Regions from separate parts of the Homo sapiens genome. Here regions 1, 3 and 4 are each linked to region 2. The links are contacts of gene promoters, found by promoter capture Hi-C in blood cells and fetal thymus (Javierre and others, 2016). All regions are on one chromosome and are shown on one strand. The core of a region is centred on a gene start or on the middle of the fragment in contact, and the rest is flanking DNA. Distances in the headings are between cores, read along the strand shown.

What was found. Contacts are between HindIII fragments. The CHiCAGO score rates a contact against its expected background, and 5 or more counts as called.
Region 1: a fragment that was not itself captured here is called in contact with the fragment with the promoter of PSMC6 in region 2 in 1 of 17 cell types (total B cells); the score reaches 5.1 in total B cells.
Region 3: a fragment that was not itself captured here is called in contact with the fragment with the promoter of PSMC6 in region 2 in 2 of 17 cell types (naive CD4 T cells and neutrophils); the score reaches 5.9 in naive CD4 T cells.
Region 4: a fragment that was not itself captured here is called in contact with the fragment with the promoter of PSMC6 in region 2 in 1 of 17 cell types (total B cells); the score reaches 5.2 in total B cells.

The regions. Positions count from the first base shown.
Region 1 is chr14:51,840,144-51,847,337 of GRCh38, reverse strand. It overlaps a transcript of GNG2 not described here. Among named protein-coding and RNA genes, the nearest start is that of GNG2, 17 kb to the left of the region's middle. RefSeq lists enhancers at 128-227, 2,762-2,861, 2,882-2,971, 3,012-3,151. The HindIII fragment of the contact is 4,692 bases long and covers 481-5,172 here.
Region 2 is chr14:52,702,862-52,710,405 of GRCh38, reverse strand. It overlaps PSMC6 (proteasome 26S subunit, ATPase 6), which reads right to left and starts at 3,206. Exons shown (of 14, transcript NM_002806.5): 1 at 3,102-3,206; 2 at 2,018-2,097; 3 at 1,884-1,923; 4 at 1,590-1,642. The coding sequence starts at 3,186. RefSeq lists enhancers at 2,846-2,895, 2,916-3,165, 3,466-3,525, 3,546-3,655. The HindIII fragment of the contact is 4,351 bases long and covers 1-3,907 here.
Region 3 is chr14:52,002,968-52,010,587 of GRCh38, reverse strand. RTRAF (RNA transcription, translation and transport factor) reads right to left here. Exons shown (of 8, transcript NM_016039.3): 7 at 6,346-6,394; 8 at 1-6,226. The coding sequence ends at 6,072. NID2 (nidogen 2) reads left to right here. Exons shown (of 22, transcript NM_007361.4): 19 at 2,621-2,778; 20 at 3,928-4,051; 21 at 4,739-4,851; 22 at 5,092-5,779. The coding sequence ends at 5,102. Among named protein-coding and RNA genes, the nearest start is that of RTRAF, 17 kb to the right of the region's middle. The HindIII fragment of the contact is 8,552 bases long and covers 1,530-7,620 here.
Region 4 is chr14:52,171,902-52,179,191 of GRCh38, reverse strand. No RefSeq gene overlaps it. Among named protein-coding and RNA genes, the nearest start is that of LINC02319, 50 kb to the right of the region's middle. The HindIII fragment of the contact is 2,479 bases long and covers 607-3,085 here.

The DNA.
Region 1 (7,194 bases), core at 1,577-4,076, 860 kb after region 2:
AATTGGGGTTGACACTCCCGCTTACAGACTTCCCTCTACAGACGCTGCAGAGACCAAGTGGCATTCGTCACCTCTCCTCTGTGCTGAGGGGAGAAGGCGACGCCCTGTGCCTCATGGTGGGGTCAGCTGCATGCTCACTCCCACCCTCCCAGTCTGCAGCCTGCCTGGGGATGCCAGTTCACAGGCCTGTCTTGATGCCAACGGGCGTTTGTTGTTGTTGTTGATTTCATAATGACCTCTGTCTAAAAATTCTGTAGGCTTCCAGGAAGGGACACAGCATACCGTGATAAAATGGATTTTTCCACCCCTCCCCCCCTCTGGTTACCATGGAAACTCTGAATGACTGATTTCCTGGTTGCCATGTAGATGCAGTGGGATCCCAGCCGCTGCACCACACAAAGACGTCAGTAAGAATAGCGAGAAAACAAAACAAAACCAAAAGAATCATGTTTGAAAAGACAAAGGATTGCATCTCAAGCTTTCTTCTCTCACACAAAAGTGGAGGGAAGGAAGCAATTGTAATTAGGAATGGTGCCCTTCCTGGAGTAGGGGTGCATGCACCTGTCCCACATGGGAGGGAAGACTGGAAAAAGGGGAAATCCCTTTTTTGTAGCCAGGGGTGTTGGCATGGTGACGGGCAGGCAGATGCCATTCTCAGGTGACTAGAGCCCTTCAGCACTCAGCCTGCGTTCCACCAAGGAAACCTGAAATATTCAGCTGGGTGGCAGAATTAAGTTAGGTAGAAAACAAAGCAAAAAACAGGTCGCACACACATTTTTTTAGAATGTTCTTCTTTTTATAGTTCTAAATTTTAGAATTAAGATTCCAAATGCTTGAATTTAATATGGGGTTGAGGTTGAATTTTTACTTCTATCCAACAACTTCAGAGAATTAACAACAAATTTAGCTGCTTTCCTGTCTTTTTAAAATTGATTTGTAACAGCCTGATAAAACCACATAAGAAAAATTGATTAATCCAGGTTTATATGGTTTTCATAACCTAGGTATTATCCATCTTTAGTAATATGTATGATGAGAACTTGTGTGTGAAAAAAATTGTATGTAAAAAATATTCTATATTACTCCAAATATATACAAAAACTAAAATGGTTGATAACTCACCTCCTTGATTTTTCATGATTATATCTGAGTCAAGTAGTTTAAAATTAATCTGTTTTTCCTTTTCCAATATCCACCTTTCTGCCTTTTGACAAATGGTTTATACATTTTAAAAACTGAATCTAGTAGGATTCACAGAGTTACTGGTGCTTTACTGTTAATTTTTGGCAGCTGAATCACAAGGTCATTTTGTAATACCTATCTTGTCAAAGGTGGAAGCTGCAATGAACTGGAGTGTCCCATGTTTTATAGATGCTGGAGCAGTGATGTCGAGACAAAACTCTGTGCCCGGGGGACTACAGAGCACAAAGAGGATGGATCCAGCCCTGTAACTACCATTTCTTAATATTATTTCCAGCATATACCACTGACTCATCACTCAGGCCAGCACGTCCCAAACTGGATCAATAGGTGGCACGCAGGGTAAAAAGTGCAGATGGGGAATTCAGAGCTCAAATCATTTTGCAAAATCTTAGGTTCAAGAACATTGACCAGGTTTATTTACCATGGGACTTCTCGGGGCTTTTGATATTCTGACATCTGGGATGACTCTCTGAGAGGGAGTTCTACAGAATAAGAATGGCATTTCCCAAACGTATTTGGCCACTGAGTACTGCCTTCACAGAATCTCTCGTAGTTCTTCAGAGCATACTTTGAGAAATGCTGGGCAAGATTGCCTCTAAGATCTAATTATAGTTTAAAGATCCATGGATATTTATTTATTTATTGAGACAGGTCTCACTGTCACCCAGGTTGGAGTGCAGTGGTATGATCTCAGCTCACTGCAGCCTTGACCTCCTGGGTTCAGTCAATCCTCCCACCTCAGCCTCCTGAGTAACTGGGACCACACAGATGCGCACCACCATGCCTGACTAATTTTGGTATTTTTTTGTAGATATAGGGCTTCGCCGTGTTGCTCGGGTTGGTCTCAAACTCCTGGGCTCAAGCAATCCACCTGCCTTGGTCTCCCAAAGTGCTGGCATGAGCCACTGCACCAGCCTTTATTTATGATTGAAAATTACCTATTTTTAAAAAGTGATTTGGCCCATATGATACACTAATTTAGCCCATAGAGAAACAGATTTTTAAGAGAGCCAAGAGAAAAAAAACAATTCACAATAAATTCAGTGTTTTTTATCTATTTTAAATCAAAGCAAGAGCACCAAGTTGTTTCAATAAAAATTGTGGCAGGAGGGCTGGGCATGGTGGCTAACGCCTGTAATCCCAGCACTTTGGGAGGCCGAGGTGGAAGGATCACGAGGTCAAGAGTTTGAGACCAGCCTGCCCAACATGGTGAAACCCCATCCCTACTAAAAATACAAAAAATTAGCTGGGCCTGGTGGCGTGCGCCTGTAATCCCAGCTACTCAGGAGGCTGAGGCAAGAGAATCACTTGAACCTGGGAGGCAGAGGTTGCAGTGAGCCAAGATCATGCCATTGCACTACAGCCTGGGTGACAGTGTGAGACTCTGCCTCAAAAAAAGAAATTGTGGCAGGAGGTAAAGAGGAACAGATACCAAGGCCATGGTGTGGTGCCTCCAGCTGGGAGTCAGCTGGAAACTATGGTAGGTTCTCCCGGGAAGGAACCACCAATGCTCAGGGGACCTTCTTGGAACTGAGTCCTCTTCCGTGGAGGTTTTGGGGCTTCCATCTGACCATATTAACTCTTTATATAACACTCCTCTCCACCCACACACACACACACAGGGCTGTCAACAACAGCAGAGTCACCAGCAACTTCAGCTCCACTGAAGCCAATGAAGAAAACAATGACTTAGAGAAACTCCTCCTCCTCTTCACTGTGACATCATGAGTCAGAAGGGGACAGTCTCAGACATAAGATCTGCCCCCTACCCAGCCTAGTCCAGCTTACCCTGGGGAGAGAGAGTTTGAACCATATATGAGATGGGAAACCAGACCAGATTGTTTTAATAAACACAAGTGACGACTTATGAGTTATGACAGAGAATCAAATATTGTTAAGGGGACTGGGTCCCTAGAGGGAAAGGAGAGCCAGTGACAGGAACACACAGCTGGTAGCAGCCATTTGCAAGATAAAACTGCTCCATGTTTCTGCCTCAACAAATTGAATGTCTTCAATCAAACTGGTTGAATATCTGGGACAGCCACGAGAACAAAGTAGGAAGGAGCAGAGCGAACTGAGAAGAGAACACACAGCCAGGAGATGCACAGAAAGGAGATACATTTCCTTTGCCTGAGTCACCAGAAGAGTCTTTAGAGCCACGGTGGAAACCAAGGTGGTGACCAAGGGGTGGGGAGGAGAAAGGGGGCCTTGCAGGCTGAGGCCACTGGCTGCTTGGAAGCATGAGTTGGGGCAGAGCATGGCTTATTCTGTGAGCCATGAATAGCTTGGCATAGTGGGACCAAAAGGCCAGGCTGTGTGGGTGGGGTGGACTGAAGAGGTGGGCTGGGGTTAATTGAGGAAATACCTTCCATGGCAATTCAATCAAAATGGAAACATGAGGAACCATTAAAACTGTTAGTCAAGAGGACTGATGTGACTGGGTTTGCATGTTGGAAAGACTGCCCCATAACAGTGTGGGATAGGCATTGAAAGAAAGTAGGGTTGAGGGCAGGAGCAGAGTGGACACACTCAAAATATTTGAGTTTTTTTTTTTTTTAACTTTAAGTTCTGGGATGCGTGTGCAGATCGTGCAGGTTACATAGGTATACATATGCCATGTGGTTTGCTGCACCCACCAACCTGTCATCCAGGTTTTAAGCCCTACATGCATCAAGTGTTTGTCCTAATGCTCTCCCTCCCCTCACCCCCGACAGGCCCCAGTGTGTGATGCTCCCATCCCTGTGTCCATGTGTTCTCATTGTTCTATATGAGGGGTTTCTATAGCAGTTGGCAGTCAGGTGTCTGGGTATGTCTGTGAGGAGGTAAGAGAGAGAGAAGAGCAAGAAAGAGGAGGTCAGCATTAATTCCAAGAGTAAGACAACCAAGTAGATGTTTGTGCCTTCATCCAGCCCTTCAACAAGTGTATATTTGCATTAATATAGAAGCATCATTTCTTCCCTCTCCCCTGAAGACCTTTCCTATGATTTACGGAAAGGAGAGCATTGATTAAAAACACCTGAAATAGTTCAGCTAATTATAACTTAATTGGGTTGTTAGTCTCTTCTGCGGTCTTTAGCTGCAACATCTCAGCCTGCTACCTTAGTGGCAACAAGATTAACAGCAGAGTTCTCCAGAGGGAGAAGAAAATTTTCCTTCAATTCTGGCAAATAGGCCAGGCGTGGTGGCTCACGCCTGTAATCCCAGCACTTCTGGAAACCGAGGCGGGCAGATCACTTGGGGTCAGGAGTTCGGGACCAGCCTAGACAACACGGCAAAACCCTATCTCTACTAAAAATACAAAAATTAGCTGGGTGTGGTGGTGTGTGCCTGTAATCCCAGCTACTGGTGAGGCTGAGGCACGAGAATTGCTTGAATCCAGCAGGTGGAGGTTGCAGTGAGCCGAGATTGTGCCACTGCACTCCAGCCTGGGCAACAGAGTGAGAATCTGTCTCAAAAAAAAAAAAAAAATTCTGGCAAATAACTGTACTCTGAAAAAGGGTCACACACAGGCCATTTGTGGTAACATAGGCCAACCAACCATCTTGTTAAATAAATTTTGAGCCCTGAGTAGGTCTGTGACCACTGGGGTGGGACCTCAGGAAAAGCTACTCTGGCACTGGGACAGTGGGTGTCCCAGCTGCTGAGCACTTCCGTTTGCGTGTGCGGAGCCCTGCGGCTGCTGCAAAAGAAATTCTGCCTGCCAGTCATAGGTTCCATTATTGCTGAGCACAACTTGGACAGCTCTACAGGCTGTAGAAAGAAGAAACAAATGAACTGTTCTGGTGAAGACCTGGGGAAGATGCTTCCTTGTTCTCTCTACAAAATAACATGTATTAAAATTGAATTTTTTAGAAAATGTATTTCAAGACATCAACGCCAGACTAAAAGATTCTAATTGTACCTTCTTGCATGAATCCCTATGTCTAGACTAGATATTATCAGGACAATAGTCTCATATCTGAATAAGCTTTTAGTGTTCTGGCTCTGAATAGGAGGATTTTTGAAGGATCTCAATTTTATTATGATTTAGGTCAGGATAGAGCAAATAAGCATGACATCATGGTAACCAACTAGGAGAGCTAAAAAGGAGGCCCTCTTGACAATAGGAAAATAACATACAGTGACTTAGAAACTTCATTAGACAGAATGTTCAGAGACCAGCCTGTATTCCTTGATGGGATTTTCTGGGTAGCTGTGTGTAAACAGTTAACTTATATTAAACATCTTTCTTAAATATATTAATAATATAATTTTCATGCAGTCTATTGGACACAATTTATTCTTCTTTCTTGATGGAGTCTGCATTGCCTGGAACTGTCATTAAGATCACAGTTGTCATCGTATGGCCCCAAAGAAAAGCATTTCCTTGTATCTATACCTACCTCTATATGCTGGAAGTCATGTCTATTTCACAATAATTTCCTATTTCCTACAAAGTGATTTTTCTCATCTGCCTCCATCCTACCCTTCCCTTTTCATGTGCCTTAATGTTTTGCTTGCTTGTTTTCTTTCCTTTTAATGGTTCTGTTGAAATATTACTGTGGACTTCAAAGCCAGATTACCTGGGTTCAAATCCGGGCTCCAACACTTAATTAGCTGTGTGACTTTTCTATGCTCTGGGATTCTTGTCTGTAAAATGGAGAGAAAAATAGTATCTACCTTAGAGGATTACAGTGAGGATTATATGAATTCATACAGAACAAACAGTGCCAGGCTTTTTGTTTGTTTGTTTGTTTGGTGCAGCCTCTAAACATAGGGTTCCCAAACCTGGTCAAATATTCAGAATCACCTGGGGAGAAATTTTAAAGTCTAGATTCCTGGACTCCCTGCCATAGATTCTAACTCAGTCAGTCTGGAGAGGGGCCTGTTGCAGCTGATTCACAGAGTAACATTTGGGAACCATTACTTAAAATGTGGGGGTCTCCTGTGGTGCTATCCTTGTTTTTCCCTCCTATTCTCTTGCATTTTCCTCCATTTGTAAGTTTGGAGTTTTCTTTGCCTGCCAGTTATGGACCTATGTATAAATAACTACCCATCTTCTTACTTGCTAAACTGACCAATCATAGTATTTTATTGATCTTGGGTTTCATATTATGCATTTGTGGTCACTCCTCCTGGTATGATTGTGACTTCTGCTCTCGGAAAAAAATTACCAGATATGTGAAGACTCCAATTAATCTAGATTCGCTGTGGTAAAAGGTAGTACATTGTTGTAGCATTATACATGAGGGACTGAACCTAGCTTTAGGGCTCAGGATATTGTAAGGTAGGAGAAGCTTCAGGGATTTGCTTATCTAACATAACTAACTGATATAAAAGAAAGAAGGGGGTTGTCTTCTGGCATATAAGAATAGCAGATGTGCTAAAAGGCAGTCATTTACAGAGCTCTGAAAGGTCTGGCTACTGTCCTGGTTGCTTGACCTATGGGCAGATTGACAGAAGTACATTCTTTCTCTCTTTATCCATTCACTGAGTCCAAAACCACCTTACACTCTACCTCAGGAAATATTTGGAGGCAACAGAATGAATGACAATCCAGGCACAAGGCTGAGAAGCAAAATTTAAGATGCAGAGAGTTTGAGATTGGGGCACCAGTGGAAGAGGGAGAACAGAAATGAGGTATTTACAGAGGAGAGAAGTCTGTCAGTAAACTGGGAACTGGGCAACTTTGGGGACTGCATCCAGAGTGGAGAACCAAGACTCTGCCCAATAAAGAGGGAGGAAGACAAATGGGCTCAAGGAGCTACTTTGGATTCTCTGTTGGTGGTAGATTTTGTGTGGAACATTTTATAGATGTCACAGGGGACATGATTGACAGAAAGATGCAACAGACACTGTACAGGAACATAAAGCTTCTTAATGATAAAATAAGGGATGAAGAAAGTTCTGGGAGTAAAGGAGAAGACAAAGTGTCATGCTCCCAGACCGAGGTACAGGCTTCCATATTCCCAGCTCCTACGATGACATCTAGCTACTGATGGAGCTACCCAG
Region 2 (7,544 bases), core at 1,957-4,456:
CCAGGCTGGAGTGCAGTGGCGCCATCTTGGCTCACAGCAACCTCTGCCTCCCTGGTTTAGGCAATTCTCCTGCCTCAGCCTCAAGTAGCTGGGATTACAGGTGTGTGCCACCATGCCCGGCTAATTTTTTTTTGTATTTTTTAGTAAAGACGGGGTTTCACCATGTTGGTCAGGCTGGTCTTGATCTCCTGACCTCGTGATCTGCCCACCTCAGCCTCCCAAAGTGCTGGGATTACAGGCATGAGCCACCCCGCCCGACCCAAGTTACTTTTTAATAGTTTAAAAAACTGCGTGCCAATACAATTTCGGAATCATATAAATTACTGACCACTTGTCACAGGATTTTACAAAGAGCTTCAAATTTAGGAAGATAGGCAAAACACTAGGATTAATATAACAATTAAGGAAAAAACGGCTAAGAAGTGAGGTTACTTGAAAAAATAAGAGGAGAAATCAATATGAAGCTATTTCAATGTTTACATCTATAGGAAATACAGGCTGAGTATTCTTAATCTGAAAATCCAAAATGCTCCACAATGTGAAATTTTTTGAATGCTGACATGATGCTCAAAGAAAATGCTCATCGGAGCATTTCAAACTTTTGATTTTTTTTAATTAGGGATGCTCAACCAGTACAACACAAATATTCTAAAACCTGAAAAAAAAAAAGCCAAAATCTAAAACACATTTCTGGCTCAAGCATTTTGGATAAGGGATACTCAACTTATATATACTTCGGCTTTTCTAATGTTTTTTAGTCTTCAAATACAGTCTTGTCCTCATGCAACCTGAAATATCTTAGAAATGCCAACTTTCGGCATCCACAGAGCCCTGAAAGGGACATGAAAATCCCTTGTCAGTTTAGGTATCTAATATTTTGACTTAGAAAATGTCAACCGCTTATATACTAGGCAAAATCCTAATAGGAGATTTATAGTTCCTGGATTAAATTCTCCCTTACAGCCATGTTCTGTGAATGTTTTAAAACCTGAACCTGAAATGACAATTAAACAGAGAAAACTCTTCCAATGAATTTAAAAGAATTATCTAAGGACACTTCCTAAAGAATAATACATAAATTGATTTCAGACACTACTGAATGACTTGAGGTCATTTGTTGGCATCTTTGATAACTGTAAAATAAAATTTAGAATTATTTCAACTTGCCCTACCCTAATCTAAATGACCTCATACAAAATTAACTTAGGCCATGGTACAGTCCATAAGTAACAGTTCTGAATGTCTAAATATAAACACAGGTAACTGATGATATCTAACACTTTTAAGTCCTCTTTAAAAATGACATTAAAATAAAATGTCTGTTTTCCAGTTCTAAAATACTTTTATTTCTAAGTGGCTATTAACAGATCTGACTGAGACAATGTAATACAGTAGAAAGTACGGAATGCCAGGAGTCAAAGCCCATGGTTTGAATTCAGGCTTTGTTAATAACTAGCTATGTCTGAACAAATCATCCTTGTGAGTTATGGGCATAAATGCTCCACCTGCTTGCCTCAAGAATTAGAGACAATAACTTACATGAAACTGCTTTGTCAATCATCAGGCACTATACAAATATAAAGTATTACCTGTCGACGACAACCCACAACATATCTTGGTCCATTGGTAGCTTTAACAATGACTAGAAGAAAAAACATAAAAGAACTAATTGAAAAATAGAAAGTAAAAAAATACATACCCACGTTGACAGAGGGTTTAGTTGTATTTCTGTCCTCCAAGGAGACATTAGTTGAAGGAAAACTTAAGTCTATTCAAAAATACTCTCTCTCTCTGCATTATTGTCATTAAAATAATAAGCATTTCAAAAGTGAGAGAGAGGTGGACTGTTTCTTTACTAATTAATAAGCTAATTCATCACTCACATTTTTCTTCAGTTAACTGTTTAAGCACTTCACCCACGATCTAAGGAAGAAAATAAAAAGCATTACTTTTTGGCAACAGCTAAATAAAAAAGCAAATTACCATCACCCCCTATTCCCCAAACTCCATCACCTACCTGCCCAACACTCTGTAGGGCCTTCAGATCATTTTCAGACTTTTCATACTGCTTGGTAAGTTCTTTTAATTGTTCCCTTACTGAAATAATACAATTTGAACATTTTTAATTGAACAGTAATCTTAGTGTGTTTAAGTCGCTACGTCTCACTTTACTGTTTACGTAAGTCTACTTCACTTTACCTAAGTTTCACATCCACTGTTTCAAACCATAAAAGAAATAATGCTGTTTGTAATGAGTAGGTGGCATGTATAACAACAAAATGTTACAGAGAAAGCACCATACTTTTACTTTGTTGATCGGCAATACTTGTTTAAGCACATCTTAAGTTATAGTCTTAGAAGATATTGACACCCTGACACTTAGGATTTGCGACTACAAATCCGAATGATAATCACTTAGACCCTTCCTCACCTCTTCACCTACCCACGTGGATTGTTCTCTGACATTCTACCCTAAATAAAGTCAACAAATGCAGTTCTCCACAGAATCATGTAATTATGGTCCTCCATTTAATTAAACTACTCATGCTTTTCAATGAAAATGCACTGGAAAAAAAAGTTAAGCACTCAGGAGGTAAGGGAAATTTGTATGCCTGATACAGTACAACACGAAACACAAGACGATATGGGTTATTATGACAACTGGAACACTTCTCTCTTAAGCTCCGCGGCCGTCTTTCGACTCCAAGAACAAGCCGACTCCCTGAGTCTCATCTCTTGTTTGAGCTTACTTGACTCAAGCGCCTTCCCCTCTCCAAGTCCCGGGACTCCACCAAGACTGCCCTTCTTGCACCCTAACCTGGGAAACATCCTCGGCCCACTTCCCCACTCCTCCTCTACTTCTTTTTCATTTTCACCTCAAGGCCGCCGATGTTCTGTCACCCGGGCTGGACTGGGCCATTTCTACACCCGAAGGAGTGCTGCTCCACAAGCTCAGGGCCGGATGACAAAGCGCCTTGTCCCTGGCCCTAGGCCTGGTCATCTCTAAGGCTCGGTTGCCGGGCTCGGCGAAAGGCTTCTGCTTTGTCAGAGGCAGAAGCGAGTCGAGGCACTTGATTAAATGGAAAGAAAGGTGCACTCACACTCCTTAAGACGGCCGTCGATCTCCTTGTGTTCAAGCAACTTCTTGCGGTAGTCCTGAAGCGCCTTATCTCTAGGGTCCGCCATGATGAGAAGCCGTCTCTCATAGGGGATGCCGGGAATGGCCATGGCCGTCCGGGCGGGGGAAGGGGCGGGGCGAGGGGCGAAACCCTGCCTGGAGGGGTGGGTTCGCCCATGAGCCCTCCCCTTCCGGTTGGCCCCGTCTTTCTACTCCACTTCCACCTCTATGTCTCGGTTCACCTAGAGCGCCGGCATACACTGAAAGAGGCCTCCACCTATACCGTTTCTTGCAAGCCGAGATAGGTAAAGCAGGACTCAGTTATCCCGGTCTTCCCCTGAGAGGCCTCAGTATTAAGTCACTGCTGTCCCGGAAGTATAAAAGGCTCTGTAATAAACTGAGATGGAAGTGAAGTAGGAAATGTGTAATACCTCAAAGGAGTTCCGATGGCCTGTCGACACAACACAGATGGCCTTTGTTATAACACAGTACTGTCCAAGACCTCCACGTGCTGGAGAAGTAGACAGTTTTATTCATCCATTCAGTCAGTGAATGAGGTATTAAAGGTAGATCTGCTTATCATTTGATAGGAAATAATAATAAAAAAAACTTCAGAGTTTAACAAATACTGTGAAGGAATTAAAACACGGTGAGAAGTATGGTGGGAAGAATTAATCTAGAACAGATATCTGAGATGAGAAGGAGCCAGCCTTGCAACAACTGAAGAAAACCTAAACAAACAGTGCAAGTCCTGGAGTGGAGTGGGGTGGGGGTTGTGGGTAGAAAGCTTGACTCACTTCCAGGAACAGAAAGGAGGCCAATGAGACCAGTAGGGGGTGGGTTGTAGAGATGTGGGGTACAAGATAAAGATGCTGAAGTAGGCTGAGGCAGGAACTTTGAAGTCTGATAGAACCTTCAGATTTATGTATTTATTTATTTACTTTTGAGATGGAGTCTTGCTCCTGCCGCACAGGCTGGAGCGGTGACGCGATCTCAGCTCACTGCAACCTCCACCTCCCGGGTTCAAGCAATTCTCCTTCCTCAGCCTCCGGAGTAGCTGGCATTACAGGTGTGCGCCACCACAACCGGCTAATTTTTGTATTTTTAGTAGAGACGGGGTTTCGCCATGTTGGCCATGCTGGTCTCGAACTGCTGACTTCAGGTGATCCACCCTCCTCAGCCTCCCAAAGTGCTAGGATTACAGGTGTGAGGCACTGCGCCCGGCCAGATTTTTTTTTTTTTTTTTTTTTTTTTGAGTCTGTGTCTCACTCTGTCACCCAGGCTGCAGTGTAGTGGTGCGATCTTGGCTCACTGCAACCTCTGCCTCCCGGGTTCAAGCGATTGTCGTGCCTCACCCTCCTGAGAAGCTGGGATTACAGGCGCCCGCCACCACGCCCGGCTCATTTTTGTATTTTCAGTAGGAATGGGGTTTCACCATGTTGGCCAGGCTGGTCTCCAACTACTGACCTCAAGTGATCCGCCCGCCTCAGCCTCCCAAAGTGTTGGGATTACAGGCGTGAGCCACGACGCCTGGCCAACTTTCAGATTTTTGTGATTTGGGGAAAATTACATACTCCCTCAATATCTCTGTAAAATGATCATAATAATTGCACTTATCTAATGGGGTTGTCATGAGTATTAAATAGGATAATGTGCCTAAACACAACATCTGCCACATGGCATGTACTCAATAGTGTTCTTTTGAATAGATATTTATTTTAAGGGTAGTAATGACTCCAATTTTTGCATTACAGGTCCTCATTGCTATACCTCTTGCTATCATTGTTCCTGGGGACAATTAATTGTTGTCCAAAAAACATGAGTAAAATTCTCCAAATAGATTCCATTTGGTCTCACCTTATCCAATGGCCATGAATGTTTGAGTTTAAATATATACATCCTAAATATACAAATAAAGTACAAATTTTTGTAAATTAATGACCCAAAGTCACATAAAGGATGCCTTCAAATTTATTAGGAACAATTCTCATGGGTATTGTGTGAATATTCCATTCTATTTTTCTTTTTTTTTTTTTTTTTTTTTTTTTTTTTTGAGTTGGAGTCTTGCTCTGTCGCCAGGCTGGAGTGCAGTGGCGCGATCTCGGCTCACTGCAACCTCCACCTCCCGGGTTCAAGTGATTCTCCTGCCTCAGCCTCCCGAACAGCTGGGATTACAGGCGCACACCACCACGCCCAGCTAATTTTTGTATTTTTAGTAGAGACAGGGTTTCACCATGTTGGTCAGGCTGGTCTCGATCTCCTGACCTCGTGATCCGCCCGCCTCGGCCTCCCAAAGTGCTGGGATTACAGGCATGAGCCACCGCGTTCGGCCAATTTTTCTAAATGTGACTGGGTTCTTGCAGTATACAATGAACAAGGAAGCTGTATGGGGCAGGGATAGTCCCTTCTCCCACTCAGTTGCAACTACTCTGGTCAAACTAGTCCATCCATACCAAAACATGTCACCTCTGACATCAAGAAGTAAAGAAGAGAGGACAAGGCAGAGAAAGAAAGCTCAGTATGGCTCAATTTAAAATATTTATGAGCACATACTGATAGGTTATTTTAACATTAATCACATCAATATTTTAAAGTCCCTTAACCCTTGTTCTTTTTCTTTTACCCATCTGGCAGCATTTCAACTTCAGAAGAATCTTCTATTTTCCCCATGCCTACACTAGCCCTGTTACTTTTTTGTTTGTTTGTTTGTTTTTTGTTTTGAGCAGGAGTCTCGCTCTGTCGCCCAGGCTGGAGTGCAGTGGTGCGATCTCGGCTTGCTGCAACCTCCGCCTCCCGGGATCAAGGGATTCTCCTGCTTCAGCTTCCAGAGTAGCTGGGACTACAGGTATGCGCCACCACACCCGACTAATTTTTGTATTTTTGGTAGAGATGGGGTTTCACCATGTTGGTCAGGCTGGTCTTAAATTCCTGAGCTCAGGTGATCCACCCGCCTTAGCCTCCCAAAGTGCTGGGATTACAGGTGTGAGCCACCGCGCCTGGCCGTTACGTTTTTATACATGCCTATAAGACTGTATTCCTCTCCATCTGAAAACGTAGCTCAACTTGTAATTATATATTCTTAAACGTGATTAAATGTTTAGAGTCTTTTCTCTGCAGTGGACTGTAACCCCTCGGAAAACAAGGACTATGACTATTTATTTCCCCTGATTGGATCCCCAGTGTCTAGCACAGTGTCTGAAATAAAAGAGATATATGTATATTGAATGAATGAATATCTCAGGCACTAAGATAGGTAAGCAGAGTTATAAAGAGGCTAAGAAATGTGACCAGTACTCAAGGAACTTAAAATATCATAAAGTGAAAACAGAAAAATACAAATGTGACCAAAAAATGAAAATTAGAACATATAGGGTGGAAGAGATAAAAGAAGGTAGGGCATATCTTAGTTTATTTCGGAGTCATTAAAAGTGATGTCATAACAAACGGTAATGAGATTGATGTAGACCTTCAAAAATCATGTAAGGATAGTTTCTCAATCTATTTTCCTATAACTTGGCACAGATGAGTGTGGTCATTTTAAAATATGTACACAAATTATTTGACACTTTCCACTTCAAGAGGTGGAGCATAATTCCCCTTCCTTGGACCTAGTGACTTGCTCTTGATAAATAAAGTGGAAGTGACAGTGCGCAACGATGGAGACTAGATCACAAAAAGTGTTGAGCCTTCCTTTTGACTCTCGCTTGGATAACTCCCTGTGGGAGAGCCAGTTGTCATGGCATGAGGACACATCAACAGATCTATGGAGAGACCTACATAGCAAGGAACAGCCATCCAGGAACTTAAGGCCTCCTGCCAACAGCCATATGAGTGAGCAGTTCCTGGCAGAGATCCTCCGGCTCTAGGCAAGCCTTTATTACTGCAGCCCTAGTATTGATTGCAACACCATGAGAGACTGAGTCACACAACTCAGTTCAGCTGCTCCTGAATTGCTGGTCCCTAAAAACCATGAGATGATAAATGTTTGTTGTTTGAAGCCACTTAGTTTTGGGGTAATTTGTTACACAGTGATCGATAACAAATACAACAAGAACAGATTTATTTTTAAGAGAAAAATTGGGAAACAGTGTCAAATAGGCAAGTAGCAACTACTTTTGCTCCCACATTGGCCACAACACTTAAGTTTTTAGAAATTTTTCATCCCAAATGTCTACTTCCAAATACCTATGAAAATGCACTTAAATTAGGCCAGGCGCAGTGGCTCACACCTATAATCCTAGCACTTTGGGAGGCTGAGGCGGGTGGATCACAAGGTCAGGAGATCAAGACCATCCTGGCTAACGTGGTGAAACCCCGTCTCTACTAAAAAATACAAAAAAATTAGCCGGGTGTGATAGCGGGCGCCTGTAGTCCCAGCTACTCTGGAGGCTGAGGCAGGAGAATGGCGTGAACCCAGGAGGTGGAG
Region 3 (7,620 bases), core at 4,556-7,055, 700 kb after region 2:
GCTACTCTGAATCAAATGATCAGGCGAGGCCTCAGCTGACACTTAAACTGGAAGTGAAGTGGGATTCCTCCAGCAGCACATTTAGAAACCAGGGTTGACGCTCACAGTAGGGCTGACCTACATCAAGTGACATTAGCCAAAGCTCAGACACCTCTGGCTTCAGTGTTGCTGTAGCAGAAATCAAGATAAACATTTTCCCTGTCTGTATAATTGCTAAGGTCATCAAATGTGACATACAGGATTTGTTCACTGTCTCAGTACTTGTTACAATCAGGGAGAATTTTTATATCTTGAGAAACTCTTGCCATGTTTAAGTGGAGTTTCTACGAAATGAAATTCCCAGATGCCCTTCAAATCAGTAAAGAAAACCTTCAGCTTTAATTTTCAGGTAAGTGCTTTTTGACTATGAAATACTTAGTGCAGTGCCTCAAAGGTGGTTTCAAACTTTGGGTTCTACACACAGGAAAAGTACCTGTATCCTTCTCTATTCCAGTTGACTTAACAGGAATTAATAGCCCTCTTAAAAACTCTTTGCATAGGCTTGCCTTTCTGACATTTGGACATTTGGAAGGTCCTTTTTTCTTTTTTTTTTCTTTTTTTTGAGACAAGGTCTTGCTTTGTTGCCGAGGCTGGGGTGCAGTGGCACAGTCTCGGCTGACTACAACCTCCATCTCCCGGGTTCAAGCAATTCTCCTGCCTCAGCCTCCCAAGTAGCTGGGACTACAGGCATGTGCCACCATGCCCAGCTAATTTTTGTATTTTTAGTCGAGACAGGGTTTCGCCATTTTGGTCTCCAACTCCTGACCCTGGGTGATCCACCTGCCTTGGCCTCCCAAAGTGCTGGGATTATAGGTATGAGCCACTGCGCCCGGCCCCTTATTCCTTCTTGGTGCTTGACCTGAAAACTGGGGAGAGCTGCCATCTTGTAGGCAATGAAACTTTGGCCATGTCTCTGGAGTCTGGGGAAAAAGCATACTTTTAAGCTGAAATCCACATCACAGCCATGAGTTTAAATATGAAAGTAGAACTTTCTTATCCAGACAGCAAATATAAATGCTAAAGGACTTGAATTTTTAATAAAAAGAAAACCCACCTTGAACCAGGTTGCAATATAACACATGTAATTACATCTCCTTCAACTGCGTAACAGAATGGTTGTCAAGCCTTCCTGCATATTTCTCATTTGCTTTCTATAGATTTCACCTTTACAACTTTCTTCCTCTGGCAATCCCCAAATAATTTACACCAAATATCTGTGTGAGCTTGTTTCAGACTTATTGTTGTTGATGATATTAAATCATTTTGGGGAGGAGACTGATCAGAAGCGATGAAGCAATGATATGCATGCTGTACCCTCTGGCCACCTCCACCTTAGCGCAAAGTGGAAACTGCTTTCTAGCTTTTGCTCTCAGCTTCTCTCTGCTTCATCTGTTGGGCATAAGGGATGAAATTCGCAACAGGGGAAACCTATGGTTTCTTCCTCTCCTCTCACTGAGGTTCTCTGTAGCCCAACTGATTTATTCAAAGCTTCTATAGCTTTTATAAAATAGTATTTTATAAAAAGTGCTTTCAACATTATTTCTGCTCTAACGATAAACCTGTTTGTTTCCTTATAACCTATTTCCACTTAATAGGACCATATTTCCTCGTTAGTATCTGTTATGAATATATTTCATTTTTAACGTGGCATTTAAAAGGTAAAGTGCTTAACTTAAAATGTTTCCATCCCTGGGTGCCAGGTACCCCTTCAAGTACCAAATTGTATTTTTGGCAGAAGAAAGAACAGTTTCCTTCTCAAATCCCTGGTCCACATCTCTTCAAGTTCCATAGTTTGTATCGAAGCCATTCCTAACAGCTGTATTTGTTTCTATTCTAAAACCCAAGATCCAATTCAAGACTTCAACAAACGGAGGGTTTTGGGGCAGTTGAGTCAAGGGGTATCTTGGAGGCAGGGATTCTGATAGTAACTTAGTAATGACTTCTCCCACATAGTGACAATAATCAGAAAACCTTGTGATACAGGTAAAAGTGGAATATGGCTGTGTATTAGTTACCTACTGCTGTGTAAGAAATTGCCCAAACCCTCAGCAGTGTAAGATAACATTTAGTCTCACAGTTTCTGTGAGTCAGGAATCCAAGTGTGTCTTCACCGAGCTCCCTCAGGCATGGAGTCTCTCACAAGGCTGCAATCAGGTAATGGCCAAACTGCAGTGATCACAAGGCTCAGCTCGGGGAAGACACAGCCCAAGCATGCTCACATGGGCTACAGGCAAGACTAATGTCTCTGGCCAACAGCCCTCAAGGACATCAGTTCCTTGGCACATGTTCCCCTTTACAGGGTAGCTTGCAACATGGCATCCAGCTTCCCTCAAAGGGAGCAAGAGAGAGCCCCTAAGGCAGAAACCAGTTTTTTGAGACCGAATATCGGCAGTGATAGCCTATCACTTCTGCTATACTCTATGCACTAGAAGAAGCAAGACACTACTAATGCAGCCCAAACTCAAGGGGATTGCTTAAGGCTATAATACATGAGGAGATGGAGATCACTGGGGGCTGCTTAGATGCTGCCTACCACAGGCTACATGGCTATTCTTTTACAATCTTGATTTTTAACTTACAGCAACTTGTACTGGACAGACTGGAATAGAGAAGCTCCTAAAATTGAAACGTCATCTTTAGATGGAGAAAACAGAAGAATTCTGATCAATACAGACATTGGATTGCCCAATGGCTTAACCTTTGACCCTTTCTCTAAACTGCTCTGCTGGGCAGATGCAGGTAATACTACTGATGGAATGCAAATAGATAACCTCTCATCACAGTGAATGTGAGCACTAACAGATTTTACTACAAAATGAAATCCCATCACTTAGATCTCCTTTCTTTGGTCTGTAAACTTTTAAGTACTAGTAAATTTAAGTACTAGTAAATGAGTCTTAAAATGAACTTTCTGGGGTTTGGGTGGAGGGAAGGATATATCAAGCAGTAAGTTTGTACTGCTTGCCTGACCATGAGTGCCTGGCATATTTTTAACAGTTAAAAGAATTAGCCATTGTTGAATTGACAAACTTAAGTGAAGTTATTCTTATGCGGGGAGAGGGTCACTATAACTTACCTATAAACATCTGTTATAATGCTAAGGACATTCTTTGGAAAGCATTGTAGCAGGGTAGCTTCCTTCAGTAATAACATGGGTATTAGCAACCTACATTTGTTTGCTTTTATCAGCACAACTGAAAAAATGCTGTGTGTCTAGTTCTATACTAAAGAATATGAAAAAGACTGTTCTTGAATTTGTAATCTAATAAAAGGGCCTAATGTACATAGGTCACTTTTATAACCCAGTTGTTTAAAACAAGTTACATTTCTTAAAAGGATTTGAAATTTAAATCGGCTCCATGAGAAATGTGAAACTTGGAAATTCTTGAATGGTTTAGCTATTGTAAAAATTTTTAAGACTGATTCCTTTACATTGAAATATGAGTTATGTTACCATTTTAGTCACTTTTTTCCTCCTACCTAGAAAATATTTTAAAAATACTAAGGATTTTGGTTAAAAGGTTGCCTCAGTAATTATAGACATAGCTTACAAAGGGCAAGTATTTACCCAGATGTTATAATTTATAAGCTAAGGCTTGAAATCACACAAATTATAAAAATAATTATGTTTAATGCCCTACTTTGGCAGAAACTTACCAGATTTCAGTAAATGCAATCCTGTCTTCCAAAAAAGGATTGAAAGTTTGAATCTCTACTAAAAACTGGAGACTAGTAATAGGACAGGTAATTTTACAGTTGCTAATCTATGACTGTAATGGAAGTAAAATATCCTATTTCCCCATTCTATCACTGTGTCACTATCACTATGTCACTATCATTTTTGGCAAAGCAGCTGAAGGACCTCATTTTCCCCCTTTGTTTTAAAAGGAACCAAAAAACTGGAGTGTACACTACCTGATGGAACTGGACGGCGTGTCATTCAAAACAACCTCAAGTACCCCTTCAGCATCGTAAGCTATGCAGATCACTTCTACCACACAGACTGGAGGAGGTGAGCCCCACAAATTCTGGACAAGCCTGAAAAGGCCAACTGTTCCAGAGGACACACCACTTGTTTTACCAAAAGTCAGTACCTGACTTGACTCATTAAGCCCTCTGAGGCTTTTGTTTCATCACCTCCTCATTGGCAGATAAGATCCTTCAAGGATGTTTTTCATCCTTTCATGTTTTTGAAATCATCCTTTTACTTCACCCAGAAATCGAATGGTATTGCTCACATATAGCTTAAAAAGTAGCAAAGCTATTGGATAATGTCTCAAAAGGGAGCATATTAATCTAAATATGTTCTTTAGAGAATAAGACTACCCTTGATACCATGAGCTATATTACAGGGCTTAAGTTGGCTTTTGACACTGTGGACATATTGTCTGAGGGACCGAAAAATACTATTTAGACTAGTTCTCAAATGAGGAACTGTGGAACATTAAAGTCTAAGCCCTTTACACCATGCCCTACAACTCTGATTTGATAGCTCATCATGTGATTCTAACATGCAGCTAGAGATGAGCAATGGATTTAGAGCAATGGTCTTCAAACTTCAGTATGGCTTTAGCACCAGCCCTGGGACAGAGAAGGCTGCCAGAAATTTTCCTCTATTGCAACTGATTTTCTGTGGCTGACTGACTTCTTTATCTAGTAAATGACTGTCCCTGAATTCACTCTTCCTTTCTGTTACCAGGGATGGTGTTGTATCAGTAAATAAACATAGTGGCCAGTTTACTGATGAGTATCTCCCAGAACAACGATCTCACCTCTACGGGATAACTGCAGTCTACCCCTACTGCCCAACAGGTAAAAAGTATGCTTTAGGATGCTCCTTTAAATTAGCAGGGTAGAGAAGGGATATATATGGTATTTGATTACCCCTGCTGCCTGTGACACTGCCACCATTGCCTTCTTCCTGCCCTGAGGGCCAGTCTTTACTACCTTAAATCTACCTAGTTTATACACAAAATGCAAAGACTTGCTGTTGCAACTTGGTTACAATATACTCACCCACCACCCTGTCCCACCCCTGCTCTTCTCTCACAGGAAGAAAGTAAGTACAGTAATGTAAAGGAAGACTTGGAGTTTACAATCAGAACCTGGACCCTAAAGAACAGTGACTGCAAAGGCAAAGAAAGTAAAAAAGGAATTGGCCATTAGACGTTCCTGAGCATCCAAGATGAACATTTTGTAGTGCAAAAAGACTTTTGTGAAAAGCTGATACCTCAATCTTTACTACTGTATTTTTAAAAATGAAGGTTGTTATTGCAAGTTTAAAAAGGTAACAGAATTTTAACTGTTGCTTATTAAAGCAACTTCTTGTAAACATTTATCATTAATATTTAAAAGATCAAATTCATTCAACTAAGAATTAGAGTTTAAGACTCTAAACCTGATTTTTGCCATGGATTCCTTCTGGCCAAGAAATTAAAGCACATGTGATCAATATAACAATATAATCCTAAACCTTGACAGTTGGAGAAGCCAATGCAGAACTGATGGGAAAGGACCAATTATTTATAGTTTCCCAACAAAAGTTCTAAGATTTTTTACCTCTGCATCAGTGCATTTCTATTTATATCAAAAGGTGCTAAAATGATTCAATTTGCATTTTCTGATCCTGTAGTGCCTCTATAGAAGTACCCACAGAAAGTAAAGTATCACATTTATAAATACCAAAGATGTAACAATTTTAAAATTTTCTAGATTACTCCAATAAAGTGTTTTAAGTTTTCCTATGACTTAAGGATCTATATTGTCTCTAGGACAAAGCTGGGGGTTGGCATATATGCCTTAACCACAAAGGAGAAAGGTGATTTATGCAAACATACAGTACATAATAAAAATTCTACTTTCCTAAACTTTATTAAAGAAAAAAGCAATAAGCAATGGTGGTAAATCTCTAGAACATACCCAATTTTCTGGGCTTCCTCCCCCGAGAATGTGACATTTTGATTTCCAAACATGCCAGAAGTGTATGGTTCCCAACTGTACTAAGTAGGTGAGAAGCTGAAGTCCTCAAGTGTTCATCTTCCAACTTTTCCCAGTCTGTGGTCTGTCTTTGGATCAGCAATAATTGCCTGAACAGCTACTATGGCTTCGTTGATTTTTGTCTGTAGCTCTCTGAGCTCCTCTATGTGCAGCAATCGCAGAATTTGAGCAGCTTCATTAAGAACTGCATCTGTTTTATGAGAAAAGAACACTGCTTCAATACATAATTTTTACATTTAAGGCCATTTATTTCCTCCCAAGTATTCAGTCTGTAAAAAAAATAGTTTGAATTTAAACAAAATCACTTACCTCCTGTGTCAAAACCAAGAATATGTTTGTCTAAAGCAACAGGTAAGCCCTTTAAAAAAAGAAAGACAAAATGAGAGTATTTATGGTTAAGAATAGCATCCTTTCCTCAACTGAAACTGAAAAGCACCTAGCTATTCTGGTGTCTTAACTCTTTTAGCTGCATGGGCAAGGGAACTAGGAATTTTGTTTATATTTGCTTTGTGATGATTGTGATTAGCGAGTTTTCCCTATTTCAACCGGTTAGGGGGAAAAGTTAACCTTTAAATGTACCAGGAAGCTCTATAGCTCATCCAATCCTTTAGCCCAGGCATACAAAACAATATATCCTTATTGCAGCAGTGCCTTGTCATTACTGCTATGGAAGGCAAGTTGAGCCAGGCTGTTACTGTCTTATTTTGGCGACAGTAAGCAACAGTATAAACGGCAAAAATAGTACCTTATATTCCATTTCTGAGCACATTAATTTGTCTTTACAAATTGTACGAACCTTTCAGCCAGCATGGTGTTTGCCAAGATTATGTATAATTATGTATAATTTAACTTTCAAGACTTGACTTGGAAGTTACTTTGAAACAAACAGTCTAGGAAAATGAAAAACTAAACCACTCAGCACCTATGGACATACTAAAGATGGTGACTATGGTGATGCCAAACTTCACAGAAACAAATTCTAAAATGAGGACAGTCTGTACTTCCTGCTGATTATATAAAATCACTGCCAAGAAAAACACACTACCCGTACTTTCAATCTTTCAATGTTACAACCTGTTACTATTCAAATGCTTTAGTCACTGCTCAATTCTTGCCTTATCTAGTAATGTAAATCTACGTAGGCTCTGTCTGCTTTAAAACAGCTAACACATGTAAGTCTGAAGAAACCAATGGGTACGAAAGCACAAGTGAGCAAAATTAAAGAGCAGAATTGTACTGAGTGGCTTTATATGTTCATCTAGTACCAGAGGCTCCACTTTTTTTTCCTTTGCCAACAGGCCACCAAGCTACCCCTGAAAACTACCATATGCCTCAAATAGTAGTTATAAATGCTTATAAGTACACTAGACTGTAAGAACTCCACTAAATTGTTATAGGCTGGTATCTTTTGAGATGACACCAAAATTAAAATTGGGAGCATTAAAAATAAAACTAAATTTTACTTTACAAACAAGAGCAAAGAGATTTGGCTAAGCCTTTACTTACACTGCCTTCCAAAGCATAGTTTTGCTGAAGGAATGAATGAATGAATGATTGACTTTATTACACCAGAACAATTTACTG
Region 4 (7,290 bases), core at 597-3,096, 530 kb after region 2:
ACATAGTTCCTTGTCAGGGCCAATATTTATGTCAAGGCTATTTAATTTTTAGTCCTTCTTTCCATATGGAGCATGCACATTCAGACCTGATTTTGTAGGGCCTAACGCTTAAATAACTTTGTGTCCTTCATTGAGAAAACATATTTAAAAAATATAAAATTAGGTACAGAGATTTGAAAGGTGCTTGTGTAAATAAGGGGCTCTAAGGCTTTAGTTTCATTAGGGTCACAGTAAATACACCTCTGGAAGACTGAAAACAGATCACATGCTCCAGATGGTGTCTTAAAATTTTCCTGATGGCCAGGTGTGGTGGCTCATGCCTGTAATCCCAGCACTTTGGGAGGCCAGGGTGGGAGGATTGCTTGAGCCCAGGAGTTCAAAACCAGCCTGGGCAATATAGTGAAATCCTGTCTCAACAAAAAAGCTAAAAAATTAGCCCAGCATGGTGGCGCATCCCTGTGGTCTCAGCTGCATGAGGTGCTAGAGTAGAAGGATCACTTGAGCCCAGGAGATCGAGGCTGTGGTATGCCATAATCGTGTCTCTCCACTCTGGTCTGGGCAACAGAGTGAGGACCTGTCTCGAAAAAAATAAAATAAAATAAAGCTTCCTGATAAGACTTACTTTTCTGCCAGATAGTTATTAAATATATCTCACATTATTAAGTATCTCATACTCTTTTTTTTCTCTCTCTCAGCTACTGTCAGTTTGATTAAGCTGATCTTTTTAAAAATCAAATAGGAATACACCCAGAGCTTTTATATTCTGACTATATGCAGAAAAATATCTTGAGCCAAGTTCTCTCTGGTCTTTCTAATCTATAAATTTTTTTGTTAAACATGTTTAGGAACTTCATAGCTATGCTAGTAAAAGGGTGAGGAGTTGGGGATTAATTCTAAGCCTGAAGAAGAGCCACTGGGGAGTGAGAGGACCTGATTGCTGTCTAGCCACCTGATATTGCCTTATTCATGGTTGAAGTTGGTTCCCAGCCATCTAGCCAGGGAATTAGCCTGGACAAAAGTGGTGGGCACATACCTGGATATCTCATTTACCAGTTCATGTTGTCACTGGCTCCCTTCTCTTTGGCCTAAAACTGAGATGAAGAGCCGGAAGGCATTGCCTCTTGGTTATGAAGACCTCCTACCTGTACTGCCCCAGAGCTTCACTAAAAAGAAGCTCCAATTGGGCTCACAGAAGTGACAAAACATATATTGTGGGGGTCATTAGTAACGTTAACTCATTTCGAACTGCTCATGGGCAGAGCCATGACTTTCCTAATACACACACCAGTGCCTGAGCCCATGTCTCCATAAGCATTTGTTCTTCGTTTGATAAACAAATGGATAGATGTATTTTAGGGCAAGATATTCATTCATTTAACAGATATTTACTGGGTACCTAATATCTGCCTGGCACCATTCTACATGCTGTGATAGAGAACTGAACAAAATAGACAAGTCTGCCCATGAAGATTACATTCTAGTGAGACGTGGTGTGTCATGACTTTTTCATAGTCCTGGGTATTCCAGGTTGTGGTGGTGGTGATGGGGGTGCTGCTGCTGCTGCTGCTGGTGGTTGTGTGTGTGTGCTTGTATTTCTTGGGGAACAGGGGTTTATAGAGGAGAAAGTAGTGGAGATTAATGTAAAAAATTGACTTTTAGAGAAGCTAATAATAGTCAGCTGAAAGCAGCAGGGCATGCTGTATATACTTTCAGCCCTGCATGCTCTGATTGTAGAACAGAGGGAGCACTAGAGTCTGGAGTACCATAGAGTACTCCACAGAGCCAGCATTCAGGTGGCCTTGAGGACAGCATTTTCAGTGTCAGGTGAAGGTCTAGCCTGAACAGAACCTGAATTCCCTTTTATCAGCTAGGGCTCTTAGATGCTAGTCATGAACAAGAACCCGGCAGGGTGCAGTGGCTCATGCCTGTAATCCCAGCACTTTAGGAGGCTGAAGTGGGAGAATCACTTGAGCCCAGGAGTTCAAGGCTATAGTGAGCTCTGATTGCACCTCTGCTCTCCAGCCTGAGTGACACAGTGAGATCCTATTTCTTAAAACAAAACAAAACAACAACAACAAAATAAGAACCTTCTATAGCTAATTAGAGCAGAAAGAATGTTTACTAAAGGATATTTGGTATCTTAAAGAAACTCCAGGAGAGCCAGAGAAACAGTGATGGAGACTGTACACCAAGAACTATGCCAAAATTGCCTACAGGACTGCTCCATGGAGGCCAGAGGGCAGCATTGGATACAGATCCTGCAGCTCACACTGCTGACACAGGAATCCGGACACCACCAAGACTGGTAGCTCAATGTCTCACCCCTACCCTTGCCACAACTGAGTTTCCAAAACTTTTTTAAAGTTCCAGAATAACACAGAATAGAAAAGAATTATCACAGACCACGCTTCCATATAACCACCACCCAGGTCAAGAACCCTCCCATGCCCAGTTCCCACCCCTATTCCTGTCTCTCCTCAATGGCAGAATAGCTCTTCCTGTCATTCTTTTCTGAGTAGAAAATCTTGTATCTGATTGGAGCAGCCTGGGAAGGTGAGTTTCTGGCATTTACTCCATAGAGATGAAGATTTAAAATAATTCCTCAAGGATAGGAAGGGTTTTCACAGGTTTTGAACAGCTTTACAGTATCACAAACTGTTACCATGTTCCCCAATGGGTAAATAAACATCTCAACCTCGTTAGGTTGAACCAGGTGTAATTTTAATTTTTGTAGGTTAAAAGTGGCTGAGTATCAGCAGTTTCCTGTGGTTTAACCTAATAGAAAAGAGTGTCAGTTAAAGCACAGGAAATGGAAAAGCATCTGAAAGAGATGAATAAGGAAGTGCTCAGGAAAGGCGAGAATGCTTGAAGCCAGCATCAGTTAGTAATGTGAGGCTTTGAACCTGTAAGTTACCTAGTTTATTACCTCCAGCATCTCTCGTTGCTATATGAGAAGTTTGTGGAACTAAGACAAGTGGTCTCTGTGTGTATGTGTTTGTTGCTTAGTAGTGAGCACTGCAAGGCAAGGAACACTGGGGGGAATTTAAAGCAACTGGCTGTGAAACCTCAAGACAGGAAGGAAGCTTCGCAGCTTGGTAGGTGCCAGTAGAGAATTGTCCAAGCAAGACAGAGCTACAGCCTTGTTTGCGTCCTGTTCTGAAGGCAGCGGGGTGGGTTGTACTACATTTTATAACACTTCTAAGTGGCTGTGGTTAAAATACACATCCTTAATGCAAGAAAATCATCAGGTGGCACAAAGACAGGCTATAATTTCATTCAGGTCAACATTGCTTAATAGAGGAAAAATAGAAATGACCTAGATGTTCAATTACGAGAGATTTTTAATATAAGTTATTTATCCATGTAATAGAATGCTAAAGAGTACCTAAAATAGTATTGTAGAAAATTATTTAATGACAAATTAAGCTGTTCAGGAAGCAGTAGTCTAATGATTAAAAGTATAGACTCCAGAGCCAAAATGCTTTGTTTGAGTCCTGGCTCTACTTACTAGCTGAGCTAAGGTGGGCAAGTTCCTCACTTGAGGTGTTAGAAGAGTTATTATAGGTAAAGCATGCAAAAGAGTTTCTGGAACATAAGAGGCACTGTGTATGTGTCAACTATTATGATGATTATTGTTGTTGACTGAATGTTTGTGTTCCCCCAAATTCATATATTGAAATCCTCAATGTGATGGTAGTAAGAGGTAACTAGGTCATAGGTAATTACCTCTGGGAGGTAATTAGGTCGTAAGGATGGAGCCCTCGTGAATAGGACTTGTGCCCCTAGAAGATGAGACAGAAGAGCTTGTTTTTCTCTGCCATGTGAGGATACAACCAGAAGATGACCTTCTGCAAATCAGGAAGCAGGCTCTCTCCAGACACCACATCTGCCAGTACCTTGAGCTTGAACTTCCAAGCCTCCAGAACTGTGAGAAATGAATGTTTATGGTTTAAGCCACTCAGTCTATGGTACATTTGTTATAGGAAGCCAAACTGACTAAGACAATCATATTCTTAAGGAAACCAACAAGGTTTAAAAACATAGTATATACTAATTAATCATGTGTATTTACTTTTGCTCCCTTATGAAATCTCACTAAAAAGTCTGGGCATGGTTGCTCATACCTGTAATCTCAGCACTTTGGGACTCTAAGGTGGGCGGATCACGTGAGGTCAGGAGTTCAAGACCAGCCTGGCCAACATGGTGTAACCCCGTCTCTACTAAAAATACAAAAATTAGCCACACATAGTGGTGCACACCCGTAGTCCCAGCTACTCAGGAGGCTGAGGCAGGAGAATAGCTTAAACCCAGGAGGCAGAGGTTGCAGTGAGCTGAGATCATGCCACCGCACTCCAGCCTGGGTGACAGAGCAAGACTCCATCTCAAAAACAAACAAACAAAAATCTCACTAAAAGAACAGTAAAGGAATTGAGAAATTAAAGTCCATGAAGACAGAAGGAAAATGGAGATGCAGCACATACATGTTTTGGCCAAATGCTAAATGGGTGAATGTTAAAATCAATGTTTGTCCAAAACCAAGGCTAACACCAAATAGCACCATCATTTGATTAAATTTCTGAGATATGAGAATAAGTGTAAAGTTTCAGTTAATATTTCAATTTTCAATTTTATTATGAAAAATTTTAGTAGTCAAATATTTGAAATTTGACATTGTTGAGCAGAAACCCAATTTTCTCAGCACTGTCAGCTGTGGAATGCTCCAAGGGTCACTATATTGCACATTGGCAATACTAAAGGCATTGCTGGTTTTAACTGAGGTGAGTAGAGTGGAAGATTTTTTTTTGTTGTTGTAGAGACAGAGTCTCACTCTGTCACCCTGGCTGGAGGGCAGTGGTGTGATCTCGGCTCACTGCAAGCTCCGCCTCCTGGGTTCACACCATTCTCCTGCCTCAGCCTCTCCAGTAGCTGGGACTACAGGCACCCGCCACCACACCTGGCTAATTTTTTGTATTTTTAATAGAGACGGGGTTACACCATGTTAGCCAGGGTGGTCTTGATCTCCTGACCTCATGATCCACCCACCTTGGCCTCCCAAAGTGCTGGGATTACAGGTGTGAGCCACCGTGCCTGGCCAAGTGGAAGATTTTAGTAGTAGTAGTAGTAGTAGTAGTAGTAGTAGTAGTAGTAGTAGAAGCATTTTGGCTAGCTCTGCCAGTGTGGGATAATTACTGATTGTAATGTTAACACTAAGTTACCAAGTCTTTTTCCCTCTCTAATAGTAACTGCCTAAAGCAGAGAGTTAACTCATCTTTGGTTTCTGCAATTAAAACTTAAATGATGGTGATAATGCAATTTCATTGAGGCAAACCACTTCCTTTAAACGAGGCTTAAATATATTTAGAAAGAGACTTAATATCACTGCCCTTCTTTCTTTTTCTTTTTTTGGGGGATAGGTGGGCAGATAGGCATTGGATGGTTTATCAAAACTTTATCAAAAGTTTTGTACTTATATCCTGATCTAGAAATGTGGCAATGGATAGATGCAATTGGCTTTGAAAGTTAGAAAATTTCTCTTTAAATTTCCATTTGTATCTCAATTTTTATTGTATGCACTCTAATTCCAGCATCTATCCTGGAATAGAAGGATAGATGGAGCTTTACAACAGGTCACATATAAAAGATACTTGGCCTCTCAAGGCACATCAGTTTGGTATACTCTATAGCATACTCCAGGATACAAGCTGCTTTTTCTGCAAACAACTGTTGGATTTTTGATCTGCTAGATTGACAGAAAAAAAACTTCCTGAATTATAATCTTCTCCATGTTGTTTACAATGTCCTAATTCTGTATTTTGTATTTGACATTTGGACATGTCATGTGTGACCACTTGGTGAATTAATGTTGATTATTGTTGACCTCTGCTTCTATTTCACTTGGCTGCCAAGAGCCTTCTGGGTCTCACACAGTTAAAATCACATTAAACCTAACTGAGGAGATATTTACATAATGGAAAGTCAGTGAAGAAAAGTGTTAGGCAATTGTCAATGACAATATGACAGCCATGATGGAGGCTATTGATTATTTGGGAGCCACAAGCATCTGATGTGTTGGCCATAGGCTTGGTTGTGTGTTCAGACAGTGATGATAGCACAGAGTAAGGTAACAGAAGTATTAGAAGTAGACAGTGAGAGAGTGGGCCCCTTGCCTTAATCTTCATCTCAATCTACCTGAATACAAGGGATTTGGAACTGCCTTGTCTACTCATTCAACTTGTTGATTTAAGATGGAATGAAAGCTGTGCAATGTTAAAGAAGCTGTTTGAACAAAAACAAGTCTTAATACTGCTTTTCTGTGTAACATTGCCAGCCTAGTAGGACCAAAATTCACCAACTGATATGCCTAGTTTTTCTGTGAGGAACTTTTGTACCTAGAATTCATAGCTTCAGCAAATTGCCAAAAAATGTTTTCTGTTTGATTATTGCAAATAGTTGGCAGTACATGGCAATTATTTTGACAAGTTTCCATTTAAATTTTTGGCCTCTATAAGAGACTCAAAATTATAAAGTGTTTTAATTAAGGAGATTTGGAAGTTTTGCTATTTGAAGTTTTATTACTAGAAAAATTGTTAATTAGTAGAAACATTTCTCCATTTTGCTGAGACCAGCTCAGTCATGGAGACCCTAACCCAGTGGCACTAGAGAAGCTAAAGACACACACACAGAAATATTGTGTGTGGAGTGGGAAATCAGGGGCCTCACAGCCTTCAGAGCTGAGAGCCTTGAACAGAGATTTACCCACATATTTATTGACAGCAAGCCAGTGATAAACATTGTTTCCATAGATTATAGACTAACTGAAAGTATTCCTTATGGGAAATAAAGGGATGGGTGTGGCTATTTATCTGCAGCAGGAACATGTCCTTAAGGCACAGATTGCTCATGCTATTGTTTGTGGTTTAAGAACACCTTTAAGTGGTTTTCTGGCCTGGGTGGGCCAGGTGTTCCTTGTCTTAATTCCGATAAACCCACAACCTTCAATGTGGTTGTCATGGACACCATGAACCTGTCACAGTGCTGCAGAGATTTTGCTTGTTTCCAGTTTTGGGGTCCTGCTCCCAGCATGTCCCCCTTCTTTGTTTTGCAAAGTGAAACAAAGGCAGCTTTGTCACAGGAGTGTGGATCTGCATCTGCAGACTATACAAAGACAAACAACACAGATTAAAAGCACAATCATCATTGAAATCACAGAGCTTCCCAGTGTTTTTATCCATTTCAATGGGTTACTAGCTGCTAATCTGTCTGCAGCTCCTTCAAGCACTCCAGTTCCTG